Linked DNA regions of Homo sapiens: regions 2, 3, 4 and 5 are each linked to region 1. Evidence: promoter capture Hi-C in human tissues and cell types (Jung and others, 2019). All regions are on one chromosome and are shown on one strand. Each heading gives the region's core, a stretch centred on a gene start or on the middle of the fragment in contact. The rest is flanking DNA. Distances are from core to core; before and after follow the strand shown.

Region 1 (2,647 bases), core at 74-2,573:
AACCGTCCAGCAGTGGATTTCTGGTGCACGGCCCCAGCATGCCTACACCTCTGTGTCAGTAATGGTGGAAAGCCTTTCTCCCTGTATGAGCAGGTGAGCCAAGAAATTATCCATACTTAAGCTTAATCAACCATCAAATTACAGTTAAGCCGAATCAGCTGAGACACGCTCGCAACAAGAAGTAATAACTCGAGACAGTCGGATCACCTGAGGCCAGGAGTTTGCAACCAGCCTGACCAACATGGTGAAACCCATCTCTATCAAAAATACAAAATTAGCTGGGTGTGGTGGCATATGCTTGTAATCCCAGCTACTTGGGAGGCTGAGGCAGGAGAATCGCTTGAACCTGGGAGGCGGAGGTTGCAGTGAGCGGAGATTGCACCATTGCACTCCAGCCTGGGCAATAAGAGCGAAACTCCGTCTCAAAAAAAAAAAAAAAAAAAAAGTAACAACTGCAAAGGCACTCCACAATACCAGCCACTTAGGAACAGGTGTCTTTTCCCAGCTTATTTCTGCAGGTGGAACTGCAGGATACTATCAACTCATCTTTCTGAACGGCACCAGTTTATTTGTGGGTTGCTAATTCACACCGTCATTTCTAGATCATCTTTCTCTGCTGCCAAGACCGGAGTAGCACCACATTTACACATCAGGCCGCCCAGCTCCCAAACCTCAGTGTGACATCTGGGCTGCTTCCAAAGATGAGCTGCACGCCACTGTCCAGCTGGAAATATCTGCCTTTAGGCAGGGCGGGGGTTTTTTGTTTTGTTTGTTTGAAAATTTCCTCCGAAGAGATTCCCTAAATAGTTTATATTACCCCTCCATCTTAACGCCTCTAATGGTAGCTTCTCAGCGCTTCATTATACAGAGGCGTGCCTGGTTCCCCTGGAAACCTGGGAGCTGGGCATTTGGTTTTGTCGTTTAAGAAATATCTTTCGCCAAGTTAGGGCGATGGCCCGCAACGGGGGATGAAATCGGAATTTCCCGGGGAAAGCAGCTTTGCGACTGAAGAGGGACGCCTCTCGGCTTTAGCCTCCCTGGGGGCGGGACTGCGTGGACTCGGCGGTCCCGGGTGCCTCGGGAGGGAGTCAGTGCCCAGATCCGCGGTGGGAACTCCGGGCTAGGAAAGCCCGGGAGGGAGGTGGTCTCAGCATCGCCCCCACGCCTACCATCTCCTGCACGCGTTTGCGGTTGGGGCGGCCCAGGGACTGCAGAGGGGGCGCCGGGCGGGGCGTCCCGGCGGGGCTGTGGGGGTGGGGGTGCTTGTTCGCGTTTATTATAACTTTACTCCCTTTAAAAGGAAAGCTATGCCCGGAATCCAGGAGGTGGCGAGCAGAGCCCGGGTTGGGAAGGACTTGACCCGCGCCCGCCGCTGGCCGCGCTCCGTGTCCCTGGAGCTGGGGCTGTGCGGGAGCGGGGCCCACCCTCTACCTTTACCCCTACTTTTACCCCCACTCCCACCCCCGCCTCACTCTCACCCCTCCAACCCCACCGTCAGCCCCACCTTTAACCCCCACCCCTCCAACCCTACCCGCCGCCACCCCCACCTGCCACCCCCACCCCCACCTATACTCCCGCAACCTCCCACCGTCACCTCCCCAACACCCCCACCACCCTCAGCCTTGACCTCCCCATCCCACCCCGCCCCGCGGGCCCCACCCTGCCACCCCCGCCCACCCCTCTCGCGGGCGGAGCGGCTCTTGGCCTTTTTTGGGCGTCTCCCTGCTCCGCGGCCCGGGCTGGCGGGCGGGCGCTCGGCTGGCGGCTGCAGCAGCAGAGGGAGACCCGCGGCAACCCCGGCAACCCAGGGCTCGGCGTCGCTGCCACCATGACGGGAAGGTAACGGCCCCCACCCACGCCCCCGGGCCGGGGAGGCGGGACTGCGGGACCCCTGGCCGAGGCGCAGCTCGCCCTCGTACAGCCCCGCGGCGCCACGATCCCCGCTCCGCCCTGGCGCGTCGGATTCTCGCAGCTGCCGGGGCGGCAGCGCCCGTCGGGGCAGGGGTCCCCCAGCCCCCGCGCCTCTTCCTCTGGGCGAGCGCCTGCAGCGGAAGGTGGAGCTCCTGCCCACCCGCCCGCTGCAAGATGGGACAGCCGTCTGCTCACAACCGACGCCCAGGGCTGCGGGAGGGGGTCTTGTCCAAGGTCAGACACCAACCACGGGCAAAAGGTTCAAAGGTTGCGTGCCTCCCCCAACTTCCCCGAGCCCGCGCTGTGCGATCCCCGATCCCGGTGAGTGTCATCTCTGGAGCCTTCCGTTTCCTCCTCTGTAAACCTGGGGTGGTAAAAATGTTAAAAATGTTGAAGGGTATGTTGGAACTTGGCCAGAGCTGCGCCCAAGCACCAGCTGTGCAGGGGTTGGTTGGGGACAGGGCGCTCCCCTGGGCCTGGCCCACCCTCTGCTCTCAGGCCCCTCGTTGCCATTTCACAGATGAGGTCACCAGAGGCCACAGAGGCTGAGCCACTCAGGAGGCCAGTCACAGGTCCACCAGTGTCCGGCCAGTGTTTGTCCCTGCAGCCCTTTCTGGAACCTAGCTGGGTACAAGTGCATGACTCAGGACTGGGTGGGAGGGGGCTGTCCCTGAGGCCCTGGTCTCCCCCAGCCAAGTCCTGGCAGGGGGATGCTGTTCTTCAGGATCCCATGACC
Region 2 (2,647 bases), core at 74-2,573, 220 kb after region 1:
TTTGTTTATTTGTAGGAATTTCTGCATCTCATCTTAGTTATTGGATTTGTTGGCATACAATTTAAACGATTCCCCTATTATCCCTTTTATTATTGTAAGGTCAGCATTGATTCCCTCTCTTTTATTCTTTCTTAGTTGTTATTTTATAGAGACAGGGTCTTGCTGTGTCACCCAGGCTAGAAATCAGTGGCTTGATCATGGCTCACTGTAGCCCCGAATTCCTGGGCTCAAGTGATCCTCCTGCTTCAGCCTCCTGAGTAGCTGGACTACAGGCATAAGCCACCACGCCCAGCTCATTTTTGTTTTACTTTTTTGTAGAGCTAGGGTCTCACTATGTTTCCCAGCCTGGTCTTGAGCTCCTGGCCTCAAGTAATCCTCCTGCCTTGGCCTCCCTCGCCCCCCCGCCTTTTTTTTTTTTTTGAGACAGAGTCTCACTCTGTCATTCTGGGTGGAGTGCAGTGGTTCAATCATAGCTTGACTGCAGCCTTGACCTCCTTAGGCAATCTCACTATGTTGCCCACACTGGTCTGAAACTCCTGGCCTCAAGTGATCCTCCCACCTTAGCTTCCCAAAGTGTTGGGATTACAGGCATGAGCCACCACGCCTAGCCATGCCTGGCTAATTTTCCTTTTTTTTTTAAGAGATGGAGTCTTGCTATCTTGCCCAAGCCGGTCTCCATCCTCCTGCCTCAGCCTCCCAAAGTGCTGGGATTACAGGTGTGAGCCACTGTACCTGGCCTCTCTCTTTTATTCTCGACTTTAGTAATTTGCATTCTCTCCTTTTTATTGGTCAGTCTAGCTAAAGGTTCAGAAATTTGGTTGATCTTTTAAAATAATCTATTTTTACTTTTATTGATTTTCCTTGATTTTTTTCTATTCTGTTTTATTTATTTCTGCTTTAATCTTTATTATTTCCTTTCTGCTTACTTTGGATTTTGCTTGCTACTTTTTTTTTCTGTTTCTTAAGTGGAAGTTTCAATTCCTGATTTGAGATCATTCTTCTTTTTAAATATAGTTGGGGTTTGGGGGTTTTTTTTTTTTTGGTTTGGAATGAGGTCTTGCTATGTTGTCCAGGCTGGTCTCAAACTTCTGGACTCAAATGATCCTCCTGCCTCAGCTTTCCAAGTAGCTGCGACTACAGGCATGAGCCACCATGTCTGGCTAATATAGGTGTTTATAGCTGTACATTTCCCTGTACGTACTGTTTTCACTGCATCCCATAAATTTCTGTATATTGTGTTTTCATTTATTTCAAGTACTGTTAAATTTTCTGATTTCTTCTTTCACCCATTTGTATTTAGGAGTTGTTTAATTTCCACATATTTATGAATTTCTCAAATTTCCTTCTATTATCGATTTCTAATTTCATTCCATTTTGATCACAGAACAGACTGTGTGTGATATCAGTCCTCTTAATTTTATTGAGGCTTGTTTTATGGTTTAGCATTTGATGTTTCCTGGCAAATGTTTCATGTGCTCTTCAGAAGAATGTGTGTTCTGTGATTGGGTGTTCTGCAGTGGTCTGTAGGTGTAGCTTGTTCAGCCTTCTGTTTCCTTGCTGATCTTCTGCCTAGCTGTTCCGTCCATTATTGAAAGTTGGGCACTGAAGTCTTCAACTACTTTTGTTAAGTTGTCTGTTTCTCCCTTCAGTGTTACCAGTTTTTGCTTCATGTGTTTTGGTGCTCAGTTGTTTGGTACATTATGTTTATAATGGTGTGTATTCCTGATGGATTGATTTTTTTAGTCATTATAAAGTGTCCTTTTTTGTCTTAAAGTCAACAACCGCTTATCTTAAAGTGGCGAAGTCCAATCTTTTGGCTTCCCTGGGCCGTGTTAGAAGAAGAATTGTCTTGGGCTCCATGTAAAATACAATAATGATAGCTGATGAGCTAAAAAAAAAAAAATCTCATAATGTTTTAAGAAAGTTTACAAATCTGTGTTGGGCTGCATTCATAGCCATCCTGGGCCACGGGTTGGACAAGCTTGACATAAGGGAGGGTAACATGGTGTGTGCCATTGAGAAACTTCCTGGAGAGACATGACCATGGGAACCGACCTGAGAAGTTTACACAGGCAGTGGAACACAGAAGCAGGGGTTCTGCTCCCGCACACTCCTCCAGCCCTCCGCGTGCCCCGCAGCCCACCGTGCTTCACCACCACCTGTTCTCAGGCAGCCCGTGCACTCTCTCCTGTGTGCTTTGAGTTGGTGTTCCTTGTGTCTACTGTTCTTCCCTTTCCCTACCTCGCTAACTCCTACATCTCATCTCACTAAAATAAGATGCATGTGGCCGGGTGCGGTGGTTCACGCCTGTAATCCCAGCACTTTGGGAGGCCAAGGTGGGCAGATCACAAGGTTAGGAGATCGAGACTTTCCTGGCCATCGTGGTGAAACCTTGTCTCTACTAAAATACAAAAAATTAGCCGGGCATAGTGGTGCGTGCCTGGAGTCACAGCTACTCGGGGAGGCTGAGGCAGGGGAATCGCTTGAACCCAGGAGATGGAGATTGCAGTGAGCCGGTATCACGCCACTGCACTCCAGCCTGGCGACAGAGCAAGACTCCATCTCAAAAAAAAAAAAAAAAAAAAAAAAAAAAAAAAAGATGCGCATATCGGTGCTTTCCAAAATCCAGTCATTGGCAAGCCACATT
Region 3 (2,647 bases), core at 51-2,550, 200 kb before region 1:
TCGAAGTGGCACCTGAAGCCAGTTCAGAACTGACAGCTACTGGTATGTTTTAGCAAGGATGACAGCTACCAGCATACATTGGACCAAGAAGTGAATTTAGGTGATAGTTGACCTAATTTTTAAAATGAATTATCCACAGTGGCTATCCATTTTGCTATGAATAATTATTAAACTATCCCTTGGTTTGGGCTGAATAGAATGGAGATTGTTGATAAGAATAGGTGCTTGTAATTCAGTCATCCTCAGGTTCTGCGATACTCCACTGTCAGCAGGCAAACTTAAATTATTAGATGTGTAGATAAGATTGTTGGTGACAATCAGGAGTGTGTGTGTGTGTGTGTGTGTGTGTATACTGTATGTAGGGCACCATGTTAGGTGCAGTGAAAGATGAAACAGATGCCCTGCGGCCTCTCAGGCTCAGGGTGATGCCGAGTTCAGTGCTGGCTGAAATTTTTAAGTTGTAAGCTGCTCCAAATAGCAGGGCAGTGCTCAGCGTCCCCACAGAGAGGGAGGAAGAGTCACTGAGTGGCCCTTGTTGCAGGCCCTAATGAAGTTCAGGGCCCCCTTGAGTGTGTACATCAGGTGGAGAAGAGAGAACGTCCTGCAAGCACAGGGCAGATGAGGACGCCGCAGCATCACTGAGGAAGGCTGGTGACTTTAAGCACTAAGGGCACACTTTATTTGACACCTGCAAGGTTAGGAGGTCTTAAGAGGTAAAACAGTGGTTGCTGTGATTTCTGCCAGCTTTTTGTTGAGGTATGAGTATTGTTTCCATCTGGTGGAAACCTAGTTTTAACTAGCTTATTCTTATTGGTGGTCCTAATGGATGAACAGGAAGAAAAGGGACTCTCACCATGGCCCTTGAGCTGAGCTTTGTGCAAGTAACCAGCTGAAGGCCTGGAAGGGTCTTGGTTATATATACTTTCATAAAGCAAGGGTTTTTACACCTGATTTCAAACTTTGTCTTTTTCCTTCCGTTTTTGTGGAGAATGGGATCTTACTGTGTTGCCCAGGCAGGTCTCAAACTCCAGGGCTCAAGCTATCCGCCTGCCTCTGCCTCTCTAAGTGTAGGGATTACAGGCGTGAGCTCCTGCGCCTGGCTTCTCTTATTTCAAATGAACCAGCTTCACAGTAATTTGTACTATGCTCACAGTACCATCCTTGGTAGTTTTTATAAAGTTTGGCAGGGAAGTTTGGCGGGCACAGATTTAGAAGAGGTAAGTATGTCATTAAGTGGAGCATTTGTTTTTGGCTGATCAGAAGGATAGTCTGATCTATTAGAATGCTATTATTCTGAAGTACCTTACCTAGTACTCACAAAGCCGGGCTGCTGGAGGACCAGGTGTCTCTTGATCACTGTAGGGCAGTGCTGAGAGCTGAGTCGGGAACTACTTAGTTGTGGATGAGATACCTACATTGTTGGAATAGGACTAGAGAATCTCGAACCTAAAGAGAAAATTTCGATGAAATTTGTTGATAGTGGTTGATGTTTAAGAAGTCTTTGTTTATTACCAGCACCTTGGTTTACATTCTTTGCCTGTAGTTGTTATATATTAGTCCATTTTTGCATTGCTATAAATACCTGGGACTGGTAACTTATTTAAAAAAAAGGCTTAATTGGCTCAGGGTTCTGCAGGCTGTACAGACAGCATAGCAGCATCTGCTTCTGGGGAGGCCTTGGAGGTTTTACTCATGGCGGAAGGCAAAGCAGGAGCGGGCACATAACATAACAAATGCAGGAGCAGGAGAGAGTTGGGAGGAGGTGCCACACACTTTTAAATGCCCAGATCTTGAGAGAAGGCGCTCACTGTCATCACTATCAGGAGTGCAGCACCAAAGGTTGGTCCTAAATCATTCATGAGAAATCCACCCCCGTGATCCAGTCAGCTCCCACCAGGCCCCACAGCTAACACTGGGGATTACAATTCAGCATGAGACTTGGGTGGCGACAAACACGCAAACTGTATCAAGTTAATATTTGCTTTTTGTTGGCAGATAAGTAAAATATTGGACCCCTCAAAAAACTGCCTTAAATAATTCCATAGAGGGATGGGAGGTGGAGAGAGTAGGTAATGCACAGAGGTATAGATGAAGTAAGATTGGCCATAGGTTGGAAATTTTTAAATATTGGGCTCATTATACTATTTGTGGAGTATACTATTTTCTCCACTTTGGTCATGTTTGAAATTTCCCATAGATTTGAATTTATGGAATAAGCTTTTAAAGAAATGCCTTCTAATATATTTTTGATGCAGAAAATATCTAACTCTGCTTTTGGTCACTAAAACTCAACTGAGACTATCAGTTGAATTGGTTATTTAGTGGCCTCCAGAGAAATGCTTGGATCTAAAGGGCCAAAGATTGTGGTTGGTTCTGTTCATTGCAAATCATAGTTGGAAGATGTTGGGGAACTGTAAACACAACTGTGTAAAATCAACTGTGATTATGACCCACTGCGGATCAGTGATTGTATGTGGCATGTAGGCAGAATCTTCTGGACTTGAGTTCATCTGCATTGGTGTGGTTTGAAAATCCCTTCTGTTGCTCTGTGATGGAGTGTTTCACCAGTCAGGTGGCTGATACCACCTGGAAGAGAATGTCTGAGTTGTTGCCTCTATCTCACGACATTTAGCTTTTCCTTCAGGTG
Region 4 (2,647 bases), core at 100-2,599, 170 kb after region 1:
GTTACTACTAGGCAACATAGAAAGGATGCCAGTTTTGCCCATCAATCTAGTTTTAATTTTCTCGATTTCCCAAAAGGAAAGGTGGCTGCTTTTATATTGATGATATCTTTCTTCATCTTTTGGCCAGTTTTTCTTAAGCAAAATAACAGATAATTTGTAAGATGACTCTGAATGAGCCATTTAGTTATTTTAAAAATTCTAAACCATGTGTCAGGAGGCCCTCTGATTTTATTTTATTTATTTATTTATTTATTTATTTATTTATTTATTTTTGCTGTATACTGCCATCTTAAAGCACCTGTTATGCTTAGTAATACAATGGCTGTGATAAAATAAAATTAATGATGATTTTCTTTTTCAACAGCAGCAAAGAAGAGTCGTGTTGTCTCTGATGCAGATGACTCTGACAGTGATGCTGTATCAGACAAGTCAGGCAAAAGAGAGAAGACCATAGCATCTGACAGTGAGGAAGAAGCTGGGAAAGAATTGTCTGATAAGAAAAATGAAGAGAAGGATCTGTTTGGGAGTGACAGTGAGTCAGGCAATGAAGAAGAGTAAGTGACAGTATAACATGAGTTTTCAGGGGTTCTTAATTAGGCAGTAGAGAGGGGTCTGTGTTATAATACAATATGTCCTGCCTAATTGCATGTCTTTGGGGATTTAGTATTTTAGTTCCTGAACTGAACACACTACAATGTGGGTGAATCTCAGAATTCATCTCAGAATTAACATGTTAAGTGAAAGAAAGCAAAGAGGACATATATGATTCCATTTACATGAAGTTCAGTAGGCAAAATTTATCTGTGGTGTTGGAAGTCAAGGTGGCAGTTGTTTCTAGGATGTTGATATTGGGGACCAGCTAGAAGGGGCCATGAGAGGACTTTCTGGGGAGGCTACATGAGTGTATAGGGTGCTGGTTACATGAGTGTATATATTTGTTAAAACTCATTGAACTGAACACTGAAGATCTGCACATTTTACTGTACATAAATTCTATTTTTTAAAAAATGGTTCCTATGCAAATGAGGATAAAGCAAATGAATGTTTTTACATTTGTCTACTTTCTAGAAATCTTATTGCAGACATATTTGGAGAATCTGGTGATGAAGAGGAAGAAGAATTTACAGTAAGTATAAGATGGAAATATTTCCTCCTTGATTGTGCTTTTTTTTGGTGTTTTTATGGCAGTGATACCATTATAGATGATTCTAATAAGTAGGAATAAACAATTATGATGTATTCAAGATAAAAATCTAGAAGAGGGATTCAGGAAGTAAAATGAAAGCGTATATACAAAGACATAAAAGGAAGCTAATGGGCAAAATTGAATTAAGGGGGAAGGGACACTTTGAGACAAAGAAAGTCACTTTATAATGCTAAAGGGCAAGATTCACAATAATTAGGGAACTTCCGATTTTCACAGTGGCATTCTAGGTGATTTGGACTAACCCCTCTGCCAAGCACAACTAGAAAAGCTAGACAAAAATATATAGAAATCTGCTCATTATCTAGGAACAAAGTAGCAAAGAATTACTAAGCCAAGAGAAACCTAAAGTGGTAATTCAGTGTTTAGAAGTGCTTTTTCTGTGGGGGTGTTTGCCTGTCAGGCTGAGAGGCTACTCATATTTTTGACAGCCTCAAGGCTTGGGGACAAAATTTAGAGTTCGGGGCCTATTGAGGTTAGGGGGCTTTGTAAACCCCATACCCTGGATTGAGACTTCAGAGAGCAGCACCATAAGATTTAGGGGGAAATAAAATAGCCTTTGCTCAGATTTTAGGCCATCTTTGAATCTTCTGGCAGACTAGAGAATCTCAGTCTCAGAAATAAGATTACAGTGGTTTAAGTTTTTCATATGTACTTATTATACACAAAAATAACATTAAAAGGTAACAGTAATGATGACAATAGTAATAGACTTAGGGCTCTAGATATAGGAATTTTAGATACCACCTTAAATATGTTCAGGGAGATAAGAAACAAGATTCAAAATGTCAGAGCAAACAAAAAGAAGGCAAATTTGGAAAAGAACCAAGTAGAAATTTTAGAACTATAAAAATACAGTAACTGAAATTAAAAACTCGATGTACAGGTAGGTAGGTGCAAGTAGCTGGTAGTCCCAGTTACTCGGGGGGCTGAGGCTTGGGGGTAGCTGGAGCCCAGAAGTTCGAAACCAGCCAGGGTAAAATAGTGAGGCCCTGTTTGAAAAGAAAAATGGGGTGGGAGGGGGTGGGGAAAACAGAAAACTTAGTGGATGAGTTTAGCATCAGATTAGACATACTTGAAAATAAGTGAACTGGAAGATGGCTTAGAAGGAGAGATCTGGAATGAAGCTTCAAGATACAGTATTACAGAAGAAAGGAAAAGATATAGACTATACATCGAAAAGTTTTCGCAAAAATTGGAATAATGAAAGGAGAGGGAAAGTTACATGTATAGCAGAAGCAGTATTTTAAAAGGAAATGATACCTAAACCATAGATTCTCGAAGTTGTACACATTGCAAGGAAGATAAACAAAAAGAAATCTACACCTAACTACATCGTAATAAAACTGCAAGAAACCAACGAAAATAGGAAAGTCTAAAAGCAGCCACAAGGGAAAAAAAATACGTTCAGAAAAGTAATGATTAGACTAACAGCTGACTTCA
Region 5 (2,647 bases), core at 106-2,605, 150 kb before region 1:
CATTCTGATGGGTTATACTACTGGTTTCCTTTCAGCAGGTGTTACTGTACTTTATCAGAAGCATTAATATAAAAGTCACATTTTTTTTTTGAGATGGAGTCTTGCTTTGTCGCCCAAGCTGGAGTGCAGTGGCATGATCTCAGCTCACAGCAACCTCTGCCTCCTGGGTTCAAGCAATTCTTCTGCCTCAGCCTCCAGAGTAGCTGGGACTACAGGCATGCACCACCATGCACAGTTAATTTTTGTATTTTTAGTAGAGATGGAGTTTTACCATGTTGGCTAGGCTGATTTCGAACTCCTGACCTTGTGATCCGCCCACCTCAGCCTCCCAAAGTGCTGGGATTACAGGCATGTGCCACCGCGACCGGCCTAAAAGTAACATTTTTTTAAGTGGATAAGTGGCATTGGATTGGGTGGCTAGAGTAACTTTATTTTTATATTTTATTATTTTATTTTTATTATTATTCTTTGAGACAGAGTCTTACTCTGTTGCCCAGACTGGAGTGCAGTGGTGTGATCTCAGTTCACTGCAACCTCCACCTTCCAGGTTCAATCTATTCTCCTGCCTCAGCCTCCTGAATAACTGGGATTACAGGTGCATGCCACCATGCCTGGCTAATTCTTGTATTTTCAGTAGAGATGGTGTTTCACCATATAGACCAGGCTGGTCTCAAACTCCTGACCTCAGGTGATCCACCTGCCTCGGCCTCCCAAAGTGCTGGGATTGCAGGTGTGAGCCACCGTGCATGGCCAAGGGGACTATTTTTAAGACAGACTTCACAAGCATTAACAACCTGTTTGACTGTTTTTATTAAGCTCTCTCCTGAAAAAAAACTCTGAGCACACTGGTAAGTTTTATCCTTTCCCAAGTGAAAAGCTTGGTGAAGAACTTTAAGGACTTTCCACTGGCTGGAGGCTGGCAAGTGGAGCTTGCTATCCTCTGACTGTAGCCATCCTGAGGGCTGAAAAGTTTACCCTGGAGAGATGGCCTATTCTATCTCTGCAGGGGAGTACTGAGGCTTAATTTCTCTTATGGAGCCTTCGCAGATGAGAGGGGCTTCAAGTGTGTTGATGCTCTGAGGCTTCCTTACTGCTGACTTGGCTGCCTGATGAGCTAACTTGTTTCCTTCAGCTATTTAATTTGTTCCCTTCTGGTGTCCCTTACAATGCATCACTGCTACCTCTCATGGAAGGAAAACTGAGGATAATAACCTGTTAATTTCCTGGCAGTATTTTATAGGGGATCCATTAGCAGTAAGAAAGTGTCTTTCCTTCCAAACGGCAGCGTGAGCATGAAGAACTAAGAAAGCATACCTGGAGTCTGTAAATGTTAACTAGCTTTCCCTTGCTTAATTCAAGTGCTGTTGTAAGAGCTATTAGTTTAGCTAGTTGAGTGCTTGGGCCTGGAGAGAGGGGTACACTTTTAATAACATCATTCAGAGTGACTGCTGCACATCCTGCCTTCTGGACTCCCTGCTTCAGAATGGAACTTCCATCCGTGAAGAGGGTACAGTCTGGATGAATTGGGACTACAGCCTCATTAATGAGGTGAGGTTCCTGAACTAATCTCCATTCCCCACTGGGTTTTTGCACTCCTAATATTGGGGTGCAGGACCTTAACAGTGCAGGACCTGTTACAGGGTTTCAGGAGGTCCTACATCTTTAGGTTCATAATGGCTTCTAGCACTTTCCTAGCTTCTGGCTTTAGGGGATCTTGTTTCTGGTTAGGAAAAGAAGTAGGAGCCTTATGATGGATCCGAACTGGCCTAGTAGTTAATAGCTTGACCTATTTTTCCTTGAGTTGCCCACACTTCTGGATTAATATTAGCTTCCACCAGGGGGAAGAGTTTGTCTGGGGCTATAAGGATGCTGGCCCCCATGCAAGCTAAAATGTCTTTACCTAATAAAGGAGTGGGATTTTTCAGGCATAATTAAAAAGGCATGTGTAAATAATAGGTCCCCCCCAACTACAACGAAGGGGTTGAGAAAAATATCAGGTTAGAACCTTTCCTGAGACACCCATCACAGTTGTGCTACGGGAAGAGGGGAGTCTTGGATTAAAGGGAAGATGAGAGAAGCTGGCTCCAGTGTCCAGAAGGAGGTCACCCTCCTTCCTTCGATTTCCAGAATCACCTGGGGCTCCTGTGCAGTAATGGCAGTTCAAGCTGCTGGAGCTGGGGGTTTGAGCTCCAGGACCAGTTAGTCCTGTTGGACAATCTGTGAGACTGGTTCTGAACCCAGTGACCTCCATCTCCAGGGGCAGTCCAGTTTCCAGTGGTCTCTGCCACAGACTGGACAGGGTCAAGGTTGCTTCCTCTTGTTGCCTGGGCACTCCTTCTTAAAGTGCTCTGACTTGCCACACCAGTAGCAACTAGTGGATGCACCTTGGGGATCCTGGACTTTGCAAGCCCGCAGAGCAGCTACTAGAAGCCTCTGTCTTCCTCTTGTGTTTCCTTTCTTTATCTTGGGCGTCCTCCTGGTCTCTTTTATAAAAGACCGAGGTGGCCTCCCTCAGGAGGTTTTCCAAGGTGCTATCTGGTCCTATAGCCTGCTTCTGCAATTTCCTTCTAATACTGGGAGCTGCCTATATAATAAACTTGTCCTTGAGGATGAGCTGTTCCTTGACTGAATCAGGGAATAAAGAGAT

What was found. Contacts are between HindIII fragments. The study calls those that stand out against the background at their distance.
Region 2: a contact is called between a fragment that was not itself captured here and the fragment with the promoter of LIMS2 in region 1, in 1 of the 25 tissues and cell types used here (spleen).
Region 3: a contact is called between a fragment that was not itself captured here and the fragment with the promoter of LIMS2 in region 1, in 2 of the 25 tissues and cell types used here (heart right ventricle and hippocampus).
Region 4: a fragment that was not itself captured here is called in contact with the fragment with the promoter of LIMS2 in region 1 in 1 of the 25 tissues and cell types used here (mesenchymal stem cells).
Region 5: a contact is called between a fragment that was not itself captured here and the fragment with the promoter of LIMS2 in region 1, in 1 of the 25 tissues and cell types used here (pancreas).

What each region holds. Positions count from the first base shown.
Region 1 is chr2:127,674,206-127,676,852 of GRCh38, reverse strand. It overlaps LIMS2 (LIM zinc finger domain containing 2), which reads left to right and starts at 1,323. Exons shown (of 10, transcript NM_001161403.3): 1 at 1,323-1,839. The coding sequence starts at 1,829. The HindIII fragment of the contact is 18,801 bases long and covers 1-2,647 here.
Region 2 is chr2:127,456,672-127,459,318 of GRCh38, reverse strand. LOC124907884 (a long non-coding RNA gene) reads right to left here. Exons shown (of 2, transcript XR_007087229.1): 2 at 1,398-2,647. Among named protein-coding and RNA genes, the nearest start is that of MIR4783, 34 kb to the right of the region's middle. The HindIII fragment of the contact is 4,271 bases long and covers 1-2,647 here.
Region 3 is chr2:127,878,476-127,881,122 of GRCh38, reverse strand. All of the region lies in intron 2 of AMMECR1L (AMMECR1 like), which reads left to right. It also overlaps the pseudogene LOC107985803. Among named protein-coding and RNA genes, the nearest start is that of AMMECR1L, 6.2 kb to the left of the region's middle. The HindIII fragment of the contact is 5,734 bases long and covers 1-2,647 here.
Region 4 is chr2:127,501,294-127,503,940 of GRCh38, reverse strand. IWS1 (interacts with SUPT6H, CTD assembly factor 1) reads left to right here. Exons shown (of 14, transcript NM_017969.3): 4 at 365-554; 5 at 1,069-1,126. Among named protein-coding and RNA genes, the nearest start is that of IWS1, 24 kb to the left of the region's middle. The HindIII fragment of the contact is 3,564 bases long and covers 1-2,647 here.
Region 5 is chr2:127,821,396-127,824,042 of GRCh38, reverse strand. No RefSeq gene overlaps it. Among named protein-coding and RNA genes, the nearest start is that of WDR33, 12 kb to the right of the region's middle. The HindIII fragment of the contact is 3,309 bases long and covers 1-2,647 here.